3 separate regions of the Homo sapiens genome follow, and regions 1 and 2 are each linked to region 3. Evidence: promoter capture Hi-C in human tissues and cell types (Jung and others, 2019). All regions are on one chromosome and are shown on one strand. Each heading gives the region's core, a stretch centred on a gene start or on the middle of the fragment in contact. The rest is flanking DNA. Distances are from core to core; before and after follow the strand shown.

Region 1 (3,793 bases), core at 1,222-3,721, 1.1 Mb after region 3:
ATATTAAGCTCCTTCTTCTCCCCTCACTCACAGCATGAAGCTTTAGGCTTCATCCTCTGGCTTCTCCCTCTCTCTCTCTCTCATATCCTTCCCCTACTTCTCCATGTTATTATCTTTCATAACTTATCTCATGCGTTACCTTCTCCAAGAAACCTTCCCTTATTTCTGGCCAAGATGAGCACTGTGCTGAGCTGTTTTCCCCAAGCAGGGCACACATTTCTCCGACACGTATCTGTCTTCCCCACTAGAACACTAGCTCCTGAGGCACAGTGTTTCTGTTTCTCATCACTGTACCCTCAGGACTGAGCTCACTATCAGGCACACAGTGTTTGTTGCATAGACTACTTTTGTTTTGCATTTTCACACTTTCTTCTTCCCATAGTCTAGTCTCGCCTCTCCTTACACGTCACTTAGTCATCAGTTTGGTAGTCAGCAAGTCATTTTAGGGTTTCCTTCCTTGGAGAAAATCCTTCCACATGTAAATCTAGCAAAAACCAGCTGATGCAGCACTTGGGAGCCACAGTCCAGCTACAGGAACGAGGGCTAGTCCTCGGGTTTGCCATAATTTTAACCATCAACTGTAAATCACAGTGCACATTTCATTCAGCTTGATGGTGTGTGACAAGGCCAGAAGGAGAAGCATTTAGTGGATCTAAGCATGAATAAGAAAACTCTTTCCTTCCTACCAATACAATGACCAAGAGACTCCTCAGTCCTCTGTTACTCACAGAGTATACTGCTCCTCTCACATAGTGAGAAAGGGAGAACTGGACTGGATGGGCTAATAAATAAAATAAAGCTTTCATGTTGGCAATGACCAAAGTAACAAATTTAAACTTGGCAAAAAGACAGAAACCTTTTAATACCTTTAAAATAAAAAGATTTTTATTTTTAGAAAGCACTTTTTAAATATAAATTAATATCACCTTCATTATATTTTTATTTCAGCTTTTATTATTTGAAGTATAACACTTTTAAAACTGTACAAGTAGCATGGGCCAAATTTCTAAACATGGTGATACAAACATATTATAATTGCATCTGGAACAGCTTTATAAACATTTTTCTATTAAAAGAAAAGTTTTTTTTAAAAAGGAGGAGCAGAGTCAACTGTTTTATAAGAAATCATTTATACTGCATATCCATGAATTAAACAAATTTATTTTTAATCTTTGCTGGTCGCTGGCCAGCCCAGCTCTGAGTCTTTAAGCTGACTGGCTTATTCCTGCCAACATCAATAAATGTTCCCTGGCACCTTTGCCTTCCATCCTATACCCCAAACCACTTTGCTCTGACCTACCTTAAACCCTATTTTCTGACTTATTTCTGATATCTGCTCCTGATCCCTTGAATTTCCTTTTCCAGGTCCTTCTCTGGCACCCGGGTTTACCACCTCTGAGAGACCCACTCTCCCTATGTGGCTCACTCTGCTGTGAGTCTGGGCAGACATGAGAAGACCAACCCACTCGTCCCCTGGGACCCTAGGCTTGCTGCAGGCGTTCATCAGCAGGGGGTGGTTGTGCTTATTAAAGCCCCAAGAATTTCACCAAAGTGAGGCATTTTCACTAACTCCTACCTTGACTGTTCTGAGAATAGTACACATAGCAGGCACTCAAATAGATGTGGAGAGAGCCAAATAACTTTTTTTTCATTAAGAAACAAACATCTATAAAGTTACAGAAAAAAACAAATTCTCTGGCTGGCTTTTGATAATCAGTATGAGTTGCACGGGTGAAGCAAATTTAAACAAGGTTGGAGAACGCCTCTGTGAAGGACCTTCTTCCCCACAATCATTCTTCAACAGGAAAAAATGCAAGAGACAGCACACGGGGCTATTCTAGCACAGTCTCTTCCTTCAAGAGAGCTCTCATCTGTTACGTTAGCAAAAATATAGTTTCTTTAGTAAATGGTCTGGGTGGGGGGTGATGGGCAGGGGAACTATGTGTTTTCCATTTATGTTTTCATCTTTTTTTTTCCTTTTGGGATCCTACATTTCCCCTCTTGCTCGTTTTTGCTTTCATTGAAGAATTCCCAAAAGTAAGTTTTCCATTTTACATTCTGTATTAGTTTCCTAATGCTTATATAACAAATTACCACAAATGGAATGGCTTAAAACAACAGAAACTTATCCTATTTTAATTCTGGAAGCCTGAAGTCCAAAATAAGTCTTCTGGGGCTAGCAGGGAGGCATCTGCAGGGCTGGCTCTCTCTGTAGGATCCAGGTGAAAATCCATTCTTAGCCTCTCCCAGCTTCCAGTGGCTGCTGGTATTCCCTGGCTCCTGTCTGCGTCACTCCAATTTCTGTTCCATCCTCACACTGTCTTCTCTTCTGTAGCCAAATCTTTTCCTGCTTCCCTCTTACAAAGGCCCTTGGGATTTCACTTAGGGCCCGCCCAGATAATTCAGGATAATTTCTCTATCTCAAAATCCTCAACATAATTGCATCTGAAAAATTTCTTTTGCGGATGATAAGGTGACATGCACAGGTTCCAGAGATTAGGACATGGATATCTTTAGAGGTCACTATTCAGCCTCCCACAGCCTCATTTCCGTAGAAGTGTTGCCTTTCCAAGATTGCCTGCCTGCCTGCCTGAGCCCCACACACAAGACGTTACACCCTTTCCCTGCAGTCGCTGCTCTGATATACCCAGGCTTCTTTTTCAGTTTTGTTTCTTTTTTTTTTTGAGATGGAGTCTCGCTCTGTCGCCCAGGCTGGAGTGCAGTGGCACGATCTTGGCTCACTGCAAGCTCCACCTCCCAGGTTCATGCCATTCTCCTGCCTCAGCCTCCCAAGTAGCTGGGACTACAGGCACCTGCCACCACGCCCAGCTAATTTTTTTGTATTTTTTTTTTTTTTTTTTTTTTTTAGTAGAGACTAGGTTTCGCCGTGTTAGCCAGGATGGTCTTGATCTCCTGACCTCGTGATCCACCCGTCTTGGCCTCCTAAAGTGCTGGGATTACAGGCGTGAGCCACGGCGCCTGGCCTTTTTCAGTATTTTTGAATTTAGGATTGACTTTCTCTCTTGATGGTGGATTTCAGCTCAATTACATCTTCTCTTTTCCATGCAATTTTTCTAAAAACTCAGCTCTCCACAAAGACTTGAGAAGGAAACTTGAGAAATCTCTTTTCCAGAAGTTAGTGTTTACCTTTCTACTTATGGAGAGTTTAAAATTTGTAGTGTTCTCTGTCTTCCTCTCATGCCAAAAACATGGAGTTTTATGATTTTATCTGTTCTGTTCTTATTGATCTTGCATAGATTTTTAGAGGATTGGAATAATTTGGCTTTCATAATTAAAAAGCATAAATCCTGTATGAAACAGGCAAATAAACAGTACTCCAACTTGGGGAAGAGCTAATACTTACACACACACACACACACACACACACACACACGCACACGCACACACACACACACACACAGCTTTAAAGTGTTAATAATTTTACATAATCGCTGACACTTTGAATAGTTATTCATAGAAATAACAATTAATTAAAAGATACAGCTTTATTGAATTCCAGAACTGGGATAGAGCACAAGAACCAGAGCTATCAAACATCTAGTAAATATCTCTGCCTCACTATAGCAGAGGAGCCACGAGGTTATTTCTTCTGCAAGTATCTACCCCACAACACCCCAGAATCCTCAAAAGTAAAAAACTGAATGAAATTAATGTCATTATGTTGAATGTAGCACTTTTGGTACAATGCTTTATATAGCCAATATAAATAAACACTGTCAATGTCTTTGCCTCCTATTCTCTGCCTGTAAAACAGCAATCATAATATTTAAGT
Region 2 (3,697 bases), core at 844-3,343, 1.1 Mb after region 3:
TGGGGATAGTAAAACTAAATTTCATATTTATTAAGAGTCTTATGTGATAAATTAGAGATTATATTATAGCAGTATTGTAGAGGTGTTACGGCATGGGCTGTGGATTCCAACAGACAGGTTTGTGTACTGGTTCTGCTCTTGTTCCGTGACCATAAGCAAATTTCTTATCCTTCTAAACTTCAGTTATTTACTTACAACAGTGCTAATATTAGCACTCCCTACATATTAAGGGAGTTCTAAAAATCCAATTATTAAATGCACACTGCTTGACACAAAATAGTTAAAATTAGTTGTGGTTGTTATTTTTTGTTTCAGTTATTATTTTATCTATTTTACTGTAGTGCTAAAACTAGAATATCCGATAGTTTGTATTATTCCTGCCTCCCATAAAATGATGCCATCTTTGATTATTCAATAAATTACATAGTATACTGTAGGGTCAAATATTAGAATATGTTCATCTGGTGCAGACAGGCAAATACTAGAGATGCACAGTTTTCTAGTTTTAAACTTCTGGGGCCATACATATTCAGGAATTCAAACTTTTGGTAGGTTTTTTAGAAGGTAATAGCACCCCGCCAGGAGGGCTTGGGGTGGAACTGGATACTCCAACACATTAATATCTCTGCAGTAAAACACATGAACATTTACACTGAGTGTTATAAAGACTATAAATACTTGTATGTCAGTTTAGTACAGTTTTTAATTCTAAATAAGTATTTTTTCAGAATTTTTAAGGATTTTAGATTATAGATAAGAAGTTGTGGAAATGGATTAAATAGAATGATACAACTAACCTTGATTCTACAGTTTTCCATTAATAATATACTACATGTCATAACATTATAGGGTAAGATAACTGGGGAGTTAAAAATTCCTCTTGGTTTACATAAAATATCCCTGAATAATTTGTAGTAAATGGAATTCTAAATAGCAATTCAAGTTTAAGTAATTACTCCCTAATTTTTAAAAGGGTATGGCAGATATCCTGATTTGTATAAAGTGACATACAGATAGCATTACCCATTTTATACTTGGTTTCAATTAGGAATTAATTTCTCTCATAGTTGTACTTTACCAGTGAGTGGGATTAAATTATTAGATTTAAGGATTTAACAAACTATTAAATTCCTCAGTGCTGATCAGTAGATGAAGCAGAACATAAGCAATATGATTGGAAATGGAGCTGAGTTCTCTAGGGAAAAAACACTGGTCTATATCTATTATCTTCCCACAGATACACAACAATTATATCAGATTGTAAATAGTCCCCAGTATGAGGTAGAAAAAAATCTGATGCATATTTATAAAAGACTGAAGGAAAGCGTTTATATCATTCACTGATCAGAGTAAGGAAAATATTATTGACTATAAATCCAAAATATTCAATCCAAAAGATTTTAAATTACAAAGGAGTTCAAAAGTTAGTCTAACTGCCTGGGTAAAATGTGCTGAAAGTTCTGTTCAACAGAAACATCAATCAACACAAAATTCATCATTCAGGAAGTGCTAAATTTTCATTAATCACTGACATGAGAAGATCACAGTAGAATGAAGGAATATATATGCGATAAAAGTGGTACATAAAAGACCATAAAAATAAGAATTTTGAAGAGGACTTAATGTTGTCAAGTCTGAATAAGGTTAGAGTAATAGTTTTCAATCCAATATAAAATTAAGGAGTAAATAACAAGTAAACAGGTTTAAAAGCTTCAATTGTCCAAGTACAGGTATAAGGAAGTCTGACAGAAAATATATGATGAAAGACATATACAGTTATATAATAAAAACAACAAATAAAAAATCAAGGCCCCTTCCACTAAACAAAAAAGGAGTCTATAATAAGTCAAATGTTAAGGTCAACTTGATTGCCTAAATTCCAGACATAACTTTGTGCTTTCTGTTAGGATAAAAAGAAATAACATGAGTAGCTCTATAATCACATTATCTCAGTAGTGAGCTGTATACATTTCTTACCATTGTTTCAAAAACCACATTAAACTGCAAATCTTTTTCATGAGGAGCTTTATGAAAGGGACCCAAAGTGATGACATGCAAAATAATCTGGACAATTTATAGCACGTAAAATGTGGAAAAAGAAAAGCCCAAATTTCATTTCAGCCAAGGCAGAGTAGTTTGTATTAAATCAACTCTCATATTAGAAACAGTAACAAAACTAGATTAAATTTGTAAAAGTGCATTTTAAGACACTGGAGAGCAACTAAAACAATCAGAACTTTAAGGTCCAAGATCCAAGAAGGAAAGAAACACAAGAAAAGGAACTATCAATGTATATCATTTTTTCCTTGAGGCATAATCACAACGTCTGCTATTCACTTAAATTACAAAATATTTCAGAATACTATCCCAAATTACTTAAAACTAAAAGTAGAGGAATAGATAAGAACAAACTAAAAGGAGAGAAATAGATAAGAAAAATAAGAACAAATTAAAAATTTTTAGAGTTATCCAACATGTACTTTAAAATAACAATCATAAAATGCTTAACAGATAAGAAAATTGTACTCCAAAACTGCAGTCTACAAAACCAAACAAAAACCTAGTCAAATATAGATTCCAAAAGCGAAAAATACAGTATTTGAATTGAAAACCTGACACTTGTGTTTGACAGCAGAAGGACATAGAAATGATTAATGAACTGAAAAATGAATGAGCAAAAATGAGAACGTAGTTCAAGTGGGAGTAGTAAGATACTTTAAAAAGCATAAAACAGGCCCAACACAGTGGCTCACGCCTATAATCCCAAAACTTTGGGAGGCGGAGGTGGGTGGATCCCTTGAGGCCAGGAGTTTGAGACCAGCCTGGCCAACAGGGCGAAACTCCATCACTACTAAAAATACAAAAATTAGCCGGGAATGGTGGTGGGCGCCTGTAATCCAGCTACTCGGGAGGCTGAGGTGTGAGAATCTCTTGAACCTGGAAGGCAGAGGTTGCAGTGAGCTGAGATCACGCCACTGCACTCCAGCCTGGGCGACAGAGCAAGACTGCCTCAAAAAACAAAAGAAAACAAAACAAAAACACACAAGACACACAGGAAAGGTATTACATGTGTGTAATTGGAGGCCCAGAGGAGTGGAGAGAAAGAATAGGGAAACAGGGCACAGCAACATTGAAAATACTGGCCAGATATTTTCTGAAAGACATTTTGCTGTACAATTCAAGAATCTGTAAATCCCAAGCAATATAAATTCAAAAGAAACTACTCAAAAGTAGTCAGTGAAAAGATGACCTCCCAAAGAGTAACTATTTGAAGAGTTACTTCTCAACAAAATGACAGAACCAGAAGACAACAGGATAGGTTTACATTCTGAAATAAAAAAAAATAAAACAATTGACAACTTTGATACTTTTCTATCAAAAATGAAGACAAAATACAAACATTTTAAATAAAAACAGAGCATTCATGGCTAACAGACCATGTAAAAAGAAGTACTAAAAAATTTCTTCAGGCCCAAGGAAAATCATCCCTAATATAGAAATATGGAAATACAAGAAAGAAAAAAGAGCAAAGGAAAAGGTAAATATGTACATAAATCTAACTGAGTAATGAAGACATCTTGCTAGGCTAATAATATACTGTCTTAACAATAATTATATTTTGAGGTTTAAAATGTGGGGCAAAAAGGGGGGGGGGAATTTATAGAGTTAAAATGTCCCAAGATCTCTGCATTGTCTA
Region 3 (3,978 bases), core at 1,047-3,546:
AAGAATCAAGAAAGTTGAGATATTAAGGTTTTTAAAAATGTGCATAATCTGATGGAATTTCATTACCAGAAGTCTACACTCTAATCCAATGGTTCTCAATTGAGTGAATTCACCCCTCAGGGCATTTTGTATCATTACAACTGAGTGGTGGTGGTGGTGGTGGTGGTGGGGGGGGTAAGGGGTGGTGATCCTGCCAAATAGGCTAGGAACACTGTTAAACATACTACAATGTATAAAACAGCCTTTCCACCACAAAAAAATTATTCAGTTCAAAATATCTATAATGCCAAGATTGAGAAGCCCTGATCTAATCCAATAAAAGTACCATACTCATCATAGATTATTTATGTAATATAACGTAATAGGCAATATCATATTTTTGAGACCACACACTGAGTTCAAAGGTCTTGAATCTAAAAGCACAACAAAGAATTATATTCCTGGCCAGGCACGGTAGCTCATGCCTGTAATCCCACCACTTTGAGAGGCTGAGGCAGGTGGATCACGAGGTCAGGAATTCGAGACCAGCCTGACCAACATGGTGAAACCCTGTCTCTACTAAAAATACAAAAATTAGCCTGGCATAGTGGTGCGTGACTGTAATCCCAGCTACTCAGGAGGCTGAGGCAGAAGAATCGCTTGAACTTGGGAGGTGGAGGTTGCAGTGAGCAGAGATCACACCACTGCACTCCAGCCTGGGTGACAGAGTGAGACTCCATCTCAAAAAAAAAAAAAAAAAAAAAAAAAGAATTCTATTCCTTAACCTAATCTTGCTCAATGTAATCAGCTGCAAAGTATTAAACTTTTAAAAAGACCATTAAGAATAAATCTACTTTCTATTTTTAAACAAAATAGAAACTTCACAAACTCATATATTTTATTACCCTCTGTTAGTTGTTCACATAATATGGTATTCCAGGAACTTAAGCAAATCTCATCTTCCAAGATTCTATGGTCCAACTCATGCTAAAACCAATTCAAAATGAAAACATTTTGGAAATTAAAGTACCTATTGTAGTCTAGGAGTCAGCAGACCTTGGTTTTAGGCTTGAGCCCATCAATGCCTGTGTGACCTTAGAGAGATCCACTTAGCATTATCTTCTGCACAGCCATGTAAGAATTAAATAAGGTATGAAATCTATCACTTATCTTCTGACAATGTCATAAATTACTCACAGGAACCCTCTCCCGAATTTTGCTAATCCTGTGGTTTTCTGATATTTAACGTAATATTCCTCCTACCTATGGTGCTCATTAGTGAAAGTATAGAAATGCTTCTCTTGGTTATTAGTCACATCTCGGATGCGTTTATATACGGGGGCACTGCGATTTCTCACTTCTTGAAGAACTGTTTGTAGCACAATTACATTCCTGATGGCAGGGTCCTCAAGAACATCAATCTTAAAGAAAGATAAAGTTAATTTTTCCTATATTCATTTGTAAATAGCTCTGTCAAACATAAAATCCTGTTTTATGTTGGGCATAAATACTTTATGTTTTAAAAACACTGAATAAGTTAAGCCAAGAAGCTATTTGGCTATAGAAAACGAGACAATAGTCACTAAACCCTTCAGATCTATTAAAAAAAGCACACTTAAACAGACCAATCACAAGACTTCGTAGAATTAAGGGTATTAATAAAGGAATACGTTGGCCCACATAGTTTTTTGTTCCTAGGCACTTACAAGCTGCCTGGGAGTCGCAGGCTGGAGGCCACAGAAGCCCAGGTCCCCGGCCTCCAGGCACTTACAATCTAAGGCAGAAGAGACACCAGGAGTTAGAAAAATAACGTGTCTGAACTACGACTCCAAGAACTAAATTTTTTAAAGCACAAGGAAAAGAACCTCGGCCTGGGGAACAGGAAGCTTCGGTCCCGAGGGGGTTTCCCTTTCGCTAGGTATGTGACACTGCCAAAGACCCGCCTCCCTGGGCCTCAGTTTCCCTGTCATACCCCCTTGTCCCCGTGGGGCCGCGCTGTCCGCGGTTCGCCCGCCCACGCACCTGGTGCAGTAACACATTAGTGTCGGGCAGCAAGTAGTGCGGTTGCGGGCAGACGCTGCTCGCCGGGTCCTGGGGCTGCGGCTCCAGGGCCGGCCCCTCGTGCGCCCCTCCACACGCTGCGCACCCGGGCGCACCGCAGCCGATGTCGTCTCGCAGGTAGTGCTCGCGCACGATCTTCATCACGCCGCCCGCCCGGGTCTTTTTTAAGAACGTCTTGGACTTGAGCATCTTGCCTCGCCGCGCAGAATCCTAACCCCAGCAGCGCTCTTCCAGCAAAAGGCGTCAATCTAGAATACGCCTAACCCCGGAGGTTCTTCCCTTTCCATTCCCGGATATTAGTAACACTTCTCGCGGGAAAATGCCGAGATAAACATTGGTTGGCTCTCTGACGGCCGCGGGGATTGGGCGAGAGTGGGGAGGGGCGGCAAAGCAAGGCGAGGAGCCATTTCCGCCCGTGGCCTAGGCGGGGCTTCCTTCTGGACGCCACCTCACAACGTGTGTTGCTTTCCGCTCCTCGGAACATCCGGGAGAGTTGACTTCCGGCGGCTTGTGGGAGTGCTGGTTCTGTCCTCCTTGCGGGTGCGGAGATGGTTGTCTTGGTTACGGGTCCTAACGGTCCCCTGCCTTGAAATCCCTTGTTGAGGGCCTGCAACCTTGTGCTTCCGACCGGAGACGCCTTTGGTCCCTCGGTGTCTGCACTGGCTGCTGGTCAAGGCTTCAGTGTGGAGTAATTGACACTTTCGAGGTAACTTGCGACTATCATCGCTTTCTTTCCCGCGTGGGGCAAGGAATCCCCCGAGCTGCCAAGTTTGGGGCTTAATTTTCACGCCGAGTGTATAGGCAGTCCCCGTCTCGGGCCCTTTGTAATCGAGGAGAGAATTTGTCTTTGAATTCACTTTTTCTTACCTATTTCCCTTCAAAAAGAAGGAGGGAGGCCGATCTTAGTATAGTTCTCGCTGTTTCCCCTCCACACACCTTTCCTTATCATTCAGTTTAGAAAAACTGAAATATTTAATAGCATAATTTGTTATATCATGAGGTATTAAAACAAGGTAGTTGCTAACATTCTTATGAGAGAGTTAGAAGTAAGTTCTATTTAGAATTTCTTGAATTTTTCTTATATCCTGTTGTTTTCATTCTGCTATCTATAAAAAATGTTTTTGTCCCCGTTTTCCCTATTTAAAACATCTTCAATGATGCCTCATTGCCTGTAGAATAAAATCCAACCCTATTTTGACATTTAAGGCCTTCCAGTCTTGATCGTTAAGGGCGTGTGTGTGTGTGTGTGTGTGTGTGTGTGTGTTTGTGTTTGTGTTGGGGGGGCGGTGAAAGGAGTAACTATTCCAAGACTTGGCTTTGTTTTTTTACTTCCACTTACGTATCATTAATAACTGCATGATTTCTCCTTTTTACCATGCCTGTCCAAATCTTTAAAGATTCTAAGTGCTACCTCTGTGTAACGTTTCCCTGACCAACTCAGACGTGATTTCTGTTATCTTTGAGCATGTGTTGGTTTTAGTGGTGCCATTCTTGATTATAATGGGCTTTTTTCTTCATCTTGTACATTTCTTTGTTTCCTCCAAGTAAGATTCCTCCCCGCAGGAACTGTTTTTTTAAGTTTCTCGAAGGCTGACTTCATATTAGGAATTAATGTGTTTGATTTGAGCATTAACTTAACTGCAATAATCTGTTCTAGATTTGGGATGCACTAAATTGCCTAATATTTATTTAAGGAATCCTTAGTCTCTCTTTAATACAGTCCATGATTTCTGTAGTTAATTTTATAGTACATTTGAATTAATGTTTTTTAACCTACAGAATATTAAAATCAAATTAGAGAAGAAAACTGATCCATAATAATAAAAATGTCTCGAAAAATTTCAAAGGAGTCAAAAAAAGTGAACATCTCTAGTTCTCTGGAATCTGAAGATATTAGTTTAGAAACAACAGTTCCTACGGATGATATTTCCTCATCAG

The links. Contacts are between HindIII fragments. The study calls those that stand out against the background at their distance.
Region 1: a fragment that was not itself captured here is called in contact with the fragment with the promoter of DIS3 in region 3 in 1 of the 25 tissues and cell types used here (lymphoblastoid cells).
Region 2: a contact is called between a fragment that was not itself captured here and the fragment with the promoter of DIS3 in region 3, in 1 of the 25 tissues and cell types used here (lymphoblastoid cells).

The regions. Positions count from the first base shown.
Region 1 is chr13:73,912,847-73,916,639 of GRCh38, forward strand. All of the region lies in intron 3 of KLF12 (KLF transcription factor 12), which reads right to left. Among named protein-coding and RNA genes, the nearest start is that of KLF12, 220 kb to the right of the region's middle. The HindIII fragment of the contact is 4,104 bases long and covers 420-3,793 here.
Region 2 is chr13:73,863,241-73,866,937 of GRCh38, forward strand. The region is part of intron 3 of KLF12 (KLF transcription factor 12); the gene reads right to left. Among named protein-coding and RNA genes, the nearest start is that of LINC00393, 200 kb to the left of the region's middle. The HindIII fragment of the contact is 7,129 bases long and covers 1-3,697 here.
Region 3 is chr13:72,779,604-72,783,581 of GRCh38, forward strand. It overlaps DIS3 (DIS3 exosome endoribonuclease and 3''-5'' exoribonuclease), which reads right to left and starts at 2,297. Exons shown (of 21, transcript NM_014953.5): 1 at 2,002-2,297; 2 at 1,243-1,400. The coding sequence starts at 2,229. It overlaps PIBF1 (progesterone immunomodulatory binding factor 1), which reads left to right and starts at 2,530. Exons shown (of 18, transcript NM_006346.4): 1 at 2,530-2,746; 2 at 3,820-3,978. The coding sequence starts at 3,867. RefSeq lists enhancers at 1,489-2,403, 2,321-2,430 and a silencer at 1,991-2,040. The HindIII fragment of the contact is 9,401 bases long and covers 1-3,978 here.